2 separate regions of the Homo sapiens genome follow, and region 2 is linked to region 1. Evidence: promoter capture Hi-C in 16 types of primary human blood cells and fetal thymus (Javierre and others, 2016). All regions are on one chromosome and are shown on one strand. Each heading gives the region's core, a stretch centred on a gene start or on the middle of the fragment in contact. The rest is flanking DNA. Distances are from core to core; before and after follow the strand shown.

The links. Contacts are between HindIII fragments. The CHiCAGO score rates a contact against its expected background, and 5 or more counts as called.
Region 2: a contact is called between a fragment that was not itself captured here and the fragment with the promoter of CDC73 in region 1, in 5 of 17 cell types (naive B cells, naive CD4 T cells, fetal thymus and 2 more). The highest score is 10.4, in naive B cells.

The regions. Positions count from the first base shown.
Region 1 is chr1:193,120,369-193,124,345 of GRCh38, forward strand. It overlaps CDC73 (cell division cycle 73), which reads left to right and starts at 1,663. Exons shown (of 17, transcript NM_024529.5): 1 at 1,663-1,963. The coding sequence starts at 1,833. RefSeq lists enhancers at 1,160-1,806, 1,711-1,780, 1,807-2,451, 2,051-2,100 and a silencer at 1,471-1,550. The HindIII fragment of the contact is 13,310 bases long and covers 1-2,807 here.
Region 2 is chr1:194,273,588-194,277,564 of GRCh38, forward strand. All of the region lies in intron 2 of LOC107985242 (a long non-coding RNA gene), which reads right to left. Among named protein-coding and RNA genes, the nearest start is that of LINC01031, 970 kb to the left of the region's middle. The HindIII fragment of the contact is 550 bases long and covers 1,917-2,466 here.

The DNA of each region.
Region 1 (3,977 bases), core at 413-2,912:
TCATTATTTGAGTATGAAATAAAATTAAGTATCGTTTGAAGGGACTATAGTCGAGCCTCCTAATCATGAAATCTTGGCTTCCTTGAGCTTATCTTTCCATTCATTACTTCAACATTTATTAGAAGCCTCTATCCATGTATTAACTCGATATTTACTAGGAGCTTCCATCAATTTATTGAATTCATCCATTTATTACTAATATGTACCAAATAATGTTAGACAGTAGGATATGAGGACACAGATCTATGGTGTTTCAGTTTTGTGGATGCAGGCAAATAAACTATAAAGGGAAGTAATATGGTACTGAGTGCTCTGACACAGGTATGAATAGAGAATGTGGGGATAGGTAATTGTAGCCATTTCTTTATAATGTGTGTGCTTGGGGTGAGATTCAGGAGAATACTACGGGGTGAAAACATTGGTGGAACAGAAAAAAATTTCACAAACTAACAGTTGCAGAATGGCTACAGATCATATCGGAAATGAACCACACACTTCTGTATCTGTAGTCCTCTGCGTTGTGAAAAGATTGACTTTTTTCAAAACAGGTCAAGGAATTTGGTTATGTCAAACACAAAGTTGCCTCTTTTTTCCTTCTGACATGGTAAAAGAAAAAAAACAATCCCATAGGATGTGTTTGGTTGGCCATAGTATATTGAACTTATCTTAACCGTCTCAAAACGCATGTCAAGGACACCACTGAGACTTCTGAGTACCATTTAAAAAATTGGGTAGTCTGGAAGTGTTCTAAATTGGACCGTTTGGGGTTTCTGTTAGGGCAACTTTCCCATTTACATCTTGGAACACAGCCTTTTGAATATAGCCCTTCGGGATTGGCGGGGAGAAGGGACCGCGATGGAAAAAGTCATCATCCAAAGAATGAAGAGGGAGGATCCAACATTTAGGATATTTTATTGACTTGCTAGGCGCGTTTACCTTATCTTCGTATTAACCCCATTTTCTTCATTAACCAATTGATGCTGTGAGAAGCTATGTAACTTGACGAGCAGTGCCCAGAACTGTTTTTTTTTTTTTCTGGACTCGGTCTTTTCCACTCAAAACCAACAAAAAACCAAAACTCGTTCTTTTCCACATCAAAAGCAAACAAAAAACCCCAACCCCAACCCCAAGAGCCCCACTCTTTCAAAAGGGCTTCTCCGGATCACTAAGTCCTAGAGGTCTTTGGCTAGGCCTGGGTCCGATCTAAATAGGAAGGTAATTCTAGTGTTCCGCAAATCCTTGCCGAATTCCATCCCGGCCAAAGCAGGGACCCGGGGGAGCCTCTGGTCGCACCCGAGACAGTTCGTTAAATACTCAGTGCACGTGCTGGGGATGGAAGTGCTGACCCACTGCTCAGGTACGCGCGCACCTGACGCCGCTTGGTGCGCGCCGCGGGGTACTGGGTACGTGCTCCGCGCGCGCGCGCCCGGCAAAGTTCCCCGTACGTGCGCCGTACGTGGGCGCGGTGCCCCAGCGCTCAGCGTTTCAGCGAGTGAGTGGGCTCCGTGCCCAGCTGAAGTCTGGGAGGGGCACTTTTCCAGGCGGTCGCGGCTCCCCCTGGCGGCGGATGTGCCTCGCTGGAGGGGCGCAGTCAGGCGTTCTCCGCGGGCAGCCGGCGGCGGGGCCTTGCCTTACAGCGCGGGGTCCTCGGCGGCCTGGGTGGCTACTGCCCCTGCTGCTGTCGTAGGCGAGGACGGCTGTTAGTGCTGCTGCTGTTGGTTCGTCGCGGCGGCGAAGGAGGAGGAGGAAGAGGGCGAGGCGACAAGAGAAGAAGGAGGCAGGCGCGGCGGCAGCGGCGGCGCCCCGAGCCGGCGGAGGCGAGGGGGGGGAAGATGGCGGACGTGCTTAGCGTCCTGCGACAGTACAACATCCAGAAGAAGGAGATTGTGGTGAAGGGAGACGAAGTGATCTTCGGGGAGTTCTCCTGGCCCAAGAATGTGAAGACCAACTATGTTGTTTGGGGGTAAGTCCGGCATGGCTGTGGCCCAGGGGTGGCAGGGCAGAGTTGGGCGCCCCCAGGCGACCTCTTTCTTAACCCCTCCCCCCGTTTCCCCTGGGGATGGGATAAAACGGGTGTTCGGGGAAAAGAAAGTTTCTCTCTAGAGCAGAAGTTGCACTTTTAGGGTAAGGAAAGAAGGGGCGGAGCTCTAGAGCAGTTCATCACTTAAAATTTTTGAGAAGCCCAAAGGAAAGGTACCGTGGGAGTTTCTGACTTTTACAGTTAATTTTTATCAGTAGGTATGTGTACCAGCGAAGTGTGGGACTGGTGCGCAAGGGATACCTGAACATAGGTGCACAAAGGAGCACACCGTCTGGTGCCGTAGACGCCTCTTTTTGTTCTTTATTTTTTTTTTCTCTTTTCCAGGCTGCTATGTAACTATCTCCGCTGGTCTTTGCAACTCCTGGTTTATTTCATCTCCTTTCATTGTTGGGGTGGGGGTGATTCCTGTAGAAGAGAAAAGGGAATCAACCCTGAAGTTAGGACCGGAAAGAAATTTGGTGAATTTGGAAGAGTCATAAAAGTCTGTGTTAGAGAGGTCTTCAGGAGTTGGTGAAATGAGTGAGCTTTACAGATCTAAGAAATAGATGGTGCGTGTGATTTTTCGGAAGTGTATTTTAAAGGGAAATGTTTGGGAATGTTGGTCCATGTGAAGTTTTATCAGTTTAAGTCATTCAGGAAAACTTCTAGAGACGGCTCTAACAGTCATTAGGGGCCTTTTTAATGATGTCACTGTCATTGGTGCATCGCTTCTAGAATTAGAACCTTGAGCTACAACTTCCCTACTCATTTTGTTTCTTTGAATGGAAGCTTTATGAAGAGTCGATGAAAAACTAGGGAAATTTAGTTTGTTGGTTGGTATTTATTTATTTATTTTTGAGAGGGAGTCTTGCTCTGTCGCCCAGGCTGGAGTGCAGTGGCGCGATCTTGGCTCACTGCAATCTTTGCCTCCTGGGTTCAAGTGATTCTCTTGCCTCAGCCTCCTGAGTAGCTGAGGTTGCAGGCCCCCGCCACCATGGCCGGCTAATTTATGTAGTTTAGTAGAGATGTGGTTTCACCGTGTTGGTCAGGCTGGTCTCGAACTCCTGACCTCAAATAATCTGCCCGCCTCCACTTCCCAAAGTGCTTGGATTACAGGCGTGAGCCACGGCGCCCTGCCTATTGGTTGGTTTTAAAATTTTTTTGTCTTATGATTTAATTAGCTTTATAAAATGTTGATCAAATGACATTCTGAGTTTCTGGTATTTTACCCTTTCGAATAATTTGCATAGGTAGAATTACATGTGGTTGGATTTTTAGTGAATTTTTTTTTTTTTAGACAATGGCTAAGGAGTACCTAGGGTGTGAAGTGGTTCAATCTGAGGATTAAAAAAATTCCTAAGACTCTGGTTTCTACCTCAAAGGAGGTTAACTTAGTCTGAATAGAGGAGATTAAACAGATAAGTTGATGTGAAATGCTTTCTATAAGTTGATGTGAAATGCTTTCTACAATAGCTTTTGAAGACAGCAGTCACTTCTAGTTGGGGTTATTTAGGAGAAGGTTCCATAGAATTGTCTTTGGCAAGTTCACATCCAACAAAGTTTTCTTGAATGAATGAATGAATGAACAAACAAGCTTTAAAGAATAGGTAGGAATTCTCTGGGCTAAATGATGGGTTAAGTCTTCCAAGATGAGTGAACTGTATACTTAAAGGCTGTATGCTTAAAGGCATAAAGAACTGGAAAGTAAATGTGTTGACAGCAATCCAGTGAAGCCAGTGAAAAAGGAGTGCTTATCACAGTAGATTTTAAACTTTTTCAGCAGTTTATCACACCAAGAAATTGTTTTTATTTTCTATATGTGCACATGCACATGGAAATATATACACATATAAAACACTAAACAATACTTACTCTTCTTATTGTATGCAGTGCATTTTATTTTTCTGTTCTTTTCTATTCTGAAAATAGAAAAAATATGGTTGTTAACTATTTATTG
Region 2 (3,977 bases), core at 942-3,441, 1.2 Mb after region 1:
TCACTTGCTCACATTTCATGTCCCACAGGTAGGATATTTGTTCTACATTATCTGGCTTCCTAAAATGTCATTACTTCCTCTAGCTCTCTGTTCTCTACATTTAGTCAACATGAATTATTTGTAGTTATTCAGACTTTCTCTTGTGTTTCTGTTCTTCCTCTGCTTTTATTTTTAATGTCTCTTGCAATCCCTCTATTTTCACTTGGTCTGAATTAAGTAACCCAGTTCTAAATTCCTAGAACACTCGGGGATTATCTGCATCATACTTCAGTGTATCTGTTTCATTAGACTGTGTGGCCACTGGGGCCAAACATAGTGACTAAGGCAGTGTCCATAACTTGGTGAGTACATAATAAAATGTTGGCATTTTAGCATATTTCAGAAGATAATTAATTACAATCTCTGACTACAAAATATTTTTAAGGTATTTAACACAGATATATTTATTCAATGCAATAGCATATAGAAAGTTCTGCATTCACACATAGTAGCTAATCAGAGCCAGTACTGAATGGAGCATGACAGTTTAACATATTCAAACAAGCACCAAGTAAGAAAAGATAAAGGATAACTATAACCATGATATTGAGGTATATTGTCTAAGGAGTTATCCATATCTAGTATAATTTAATGTCTGGTGCTTATAGATTAAATATCTATTTAATACAAACAAACAAAAAGCTAATTTTAGGTGTTCCACGAATAAAATATAATGAATCCATCTCCCACTATTGGGACTAATGTGGAAAACTGAGTAATGGACCAAAACAACTAAATTCTTTAAACAAATTTTTCTTGGTTTAGTATTTATAAACATTTAAGTAAATTATTGGAAAAGATGAAAATATGAAGATTTTAGAGTTAAAAGAAAAGGCATGTAAAGGCATTTAAAAATAAACACATTTCTTGATTTCTTACATTGATCCATATTATTGTATTTCAGCTCATTCAATATTAGTAATAAACAGGCAACAAGCTGCTGTATCTCTTTGAGAATGAATTGTAAACTTATGAAGTAACAAGACGAATCAGGAAGAAAAATTCTATTCAGAGAACAATCATTGAAATCAGAAAGAGATATATTTAAGTTATATCTGTATCACTTACTACCTCTGTAATTTTGGGTGAGTTATTTAGGTTATAAAAGCCTGATATCTACCTCAAAGTGTTGTAAGAATAAATAGTAATTACGCATGCAAAGGGGAAGCAAGGAGATTAACAAATAGTTAATGTTTCATTCATTTGCTGTCATTTACTATGACTTTTGTTAAGGAATTGTTTTTCATAAAACAAATTGTATTAAATAATCATATTACCCATTAGCTTTCATATATAATTCGGAAATGTATTCTCAAGAATAACCAATGACATTATAACAAATAAGTTGCTTGCTTCTCAATGTTTACCAAGCACGGAGTGAGTTACTGGATATCCACTATTCTCTAGATAATTAATTGATAGCATTAAATATGCCCAACTCTGGCCTTGTAACTTTAGAAAGTCCCATGAGTTAATTATGCTGTGTAGGTTTTGCTTCTTAAGAAAACTGAACGTATTTTTAATACTATGGTGTTTGTTAGGTTAAAAGTTAATTGGAAAAATAAAATATTTCCACTCCAAGCAGAATTTGTTTTTCACCTGTGGCTAACATATGAAAATTATACACTTTCTTGGTGCTACATAGTACAATACAAAAATTGTGCTGCAAAACAAAAATTAAAAGATGTAAAGAATTTTGGTGTGACTTTCAGTGATCATGATATGCTTAAAATAATATGCATAATTGAAACAAAAGAATGAATCTTTGAATATAAACCACAGAATATTTCCAGGAAAAGCATATTAGCTTGTCTCAGTTAAATCTTCCAACCAAAGGCTAGAAAATTTGAGTAACTTCTTTTTATTAGTCACTTTAAAGCTTTCAAGTCCTGTAGGAACAAGATCCTGGACAGAGGAGAAGCAAAGAGGTGAATGTGGATTTCCTATGTGTGATTCTTCCATCTGGGGATACGACAATCCACATACGGTGGTATGGAATTCAAGAAGTTGAACAAATATATTTTTTTAATCTCCCAGAGGTGGGATAAAATAAATTGAATGTAAGCCTGACGGGGAGGAGCACACAAATACTTTAGCCTTTTATTTGTGAGGCCTGAAGGAATATACTCTTAAAAAAACAGTAACTTAGGAACTGACTAGCTGTCACAAACATTGAAATCCCACCAAGTATTAGCTCAATCACTAACTGAATTATGGTAATTTCCAATAACCTATACTGAATTCTAGAGTCTGGAAACTGAAGATAGCTATGAGCAATTTACCAAGACTATGGAAGTATGGATTACAGTTCAGGGCTTGCAGAGGTGGAACAATTTTTATGAATACACTAGTCTTCCAGTTGCATGAAGACAAAATCAAGTAAGATGTAGACCAGATCTCATAATGATTTGTAATCAGTTTCAAATAAGCTTAATTTCATATTGGATTAAGGTGGTATGGCCCAAATTTAACTACCTGTGAAAAACGAAAGAAAAACTCTATAAAGACAAGCCAATGTGTTAAAATATTTCTAATTTTTTTTCTGCACAATTCCATTTAAAAAATTACATGTCATAGGCCACGCGCGGTGGCTCACCCCTGTAATCCCAGCACTTTGGGAGGCCGAGGCGGGCAGATCACAAGGTCAGGAGATCTAGACCATCCTGGCTAACACGGTGAAACCCCGTCTCTACTAAAAATACAAAAAATTAGCCAGGCGCCTATAGTCCCAGCTACTTGGGAGGCTGAGGCAGGAGAATGGTGTGAACCCAGGAGGCGGAGCTTGCAGTGAGCCGAGATAGCGCCACTGCACTCGGGCCTGGGCAAAAGGGCGAGACTCCGTCTCAAAAAAAAAAAAAAAAAAAAAAAAAAATTACATGTCATAGCAATGGGCAAAAATAAATGGTGGTGCTAATTATGGTGATCATGATGATAATAACAAAGATTAGAAAAGAAACAAAGAAATAGTTTCAGAGGAGTAATAGGTTATGAGGATTTGAGACCTAAATTATAATATGAGATTAATTAATATTTTCAACCAAATAAAGATGAATTGGAATTTTTCGTCAGAGAACTGAACTTTATAAAATGAGTTATGAGAAAATTAAAAGAATAGAAAATATGCTATATGTAAAATTAAGAATTAAAGGGCTGTACTGAAAAACACATGAGAAACAGCAAAAGACAAGATTGGAGATCTGAACAGTAAAACAAATGAAAATATTTAGAGAGAATACAGAAAGAACAGAGATACCATGAATAGGTCTAATATATGTGCAAATGCAGTCCCATTAGAAATGAAAAAAAATTAGACAGGATAATTATTTGAATAAGTAATAGCTAACGATTTCCAAAAACTGATTACTGATATGAAGTCACAGATTTATGGAGATATATATAGATATATATATATAAAGTCAGGCCTTCCATAAATATATATACACGCAAAAACTATATATGATATATATATCAATATCATATAGATATTATATATCTATATATAATATAAACATATAATCTATAGTATATAATAACACATAACACATTATAGTAAAGTATCTAAAATGTTGAATAGAAAGAGAAAATTTATAACCACCATCTGATTCAATGCTATTCCTATCAAACTACCAATGATGTTTTCATAGAATTAGAAGAAACTATTCTAAAATTCGTATGGAACCAAAAAAAAAAAAAAAAGCCTGAATAGCCAAAGCAATCGTATGCAAACAGTACAAAGCCAGAGGCATCACACTACCCAACTTCAAGCTATACAACAAGGCTACAGTAATCAAAACAGCATAGTACTGGTACAAAAATAGACACATAGACAAATGGATCATGGTGGAGAGCCTAGAAATAAAGCCACACACCTACAACCATCTGATATTTGACAGAAACAAGCAACAGGGAAAGGAATCGCTAGTCAATAAATAGTGCTT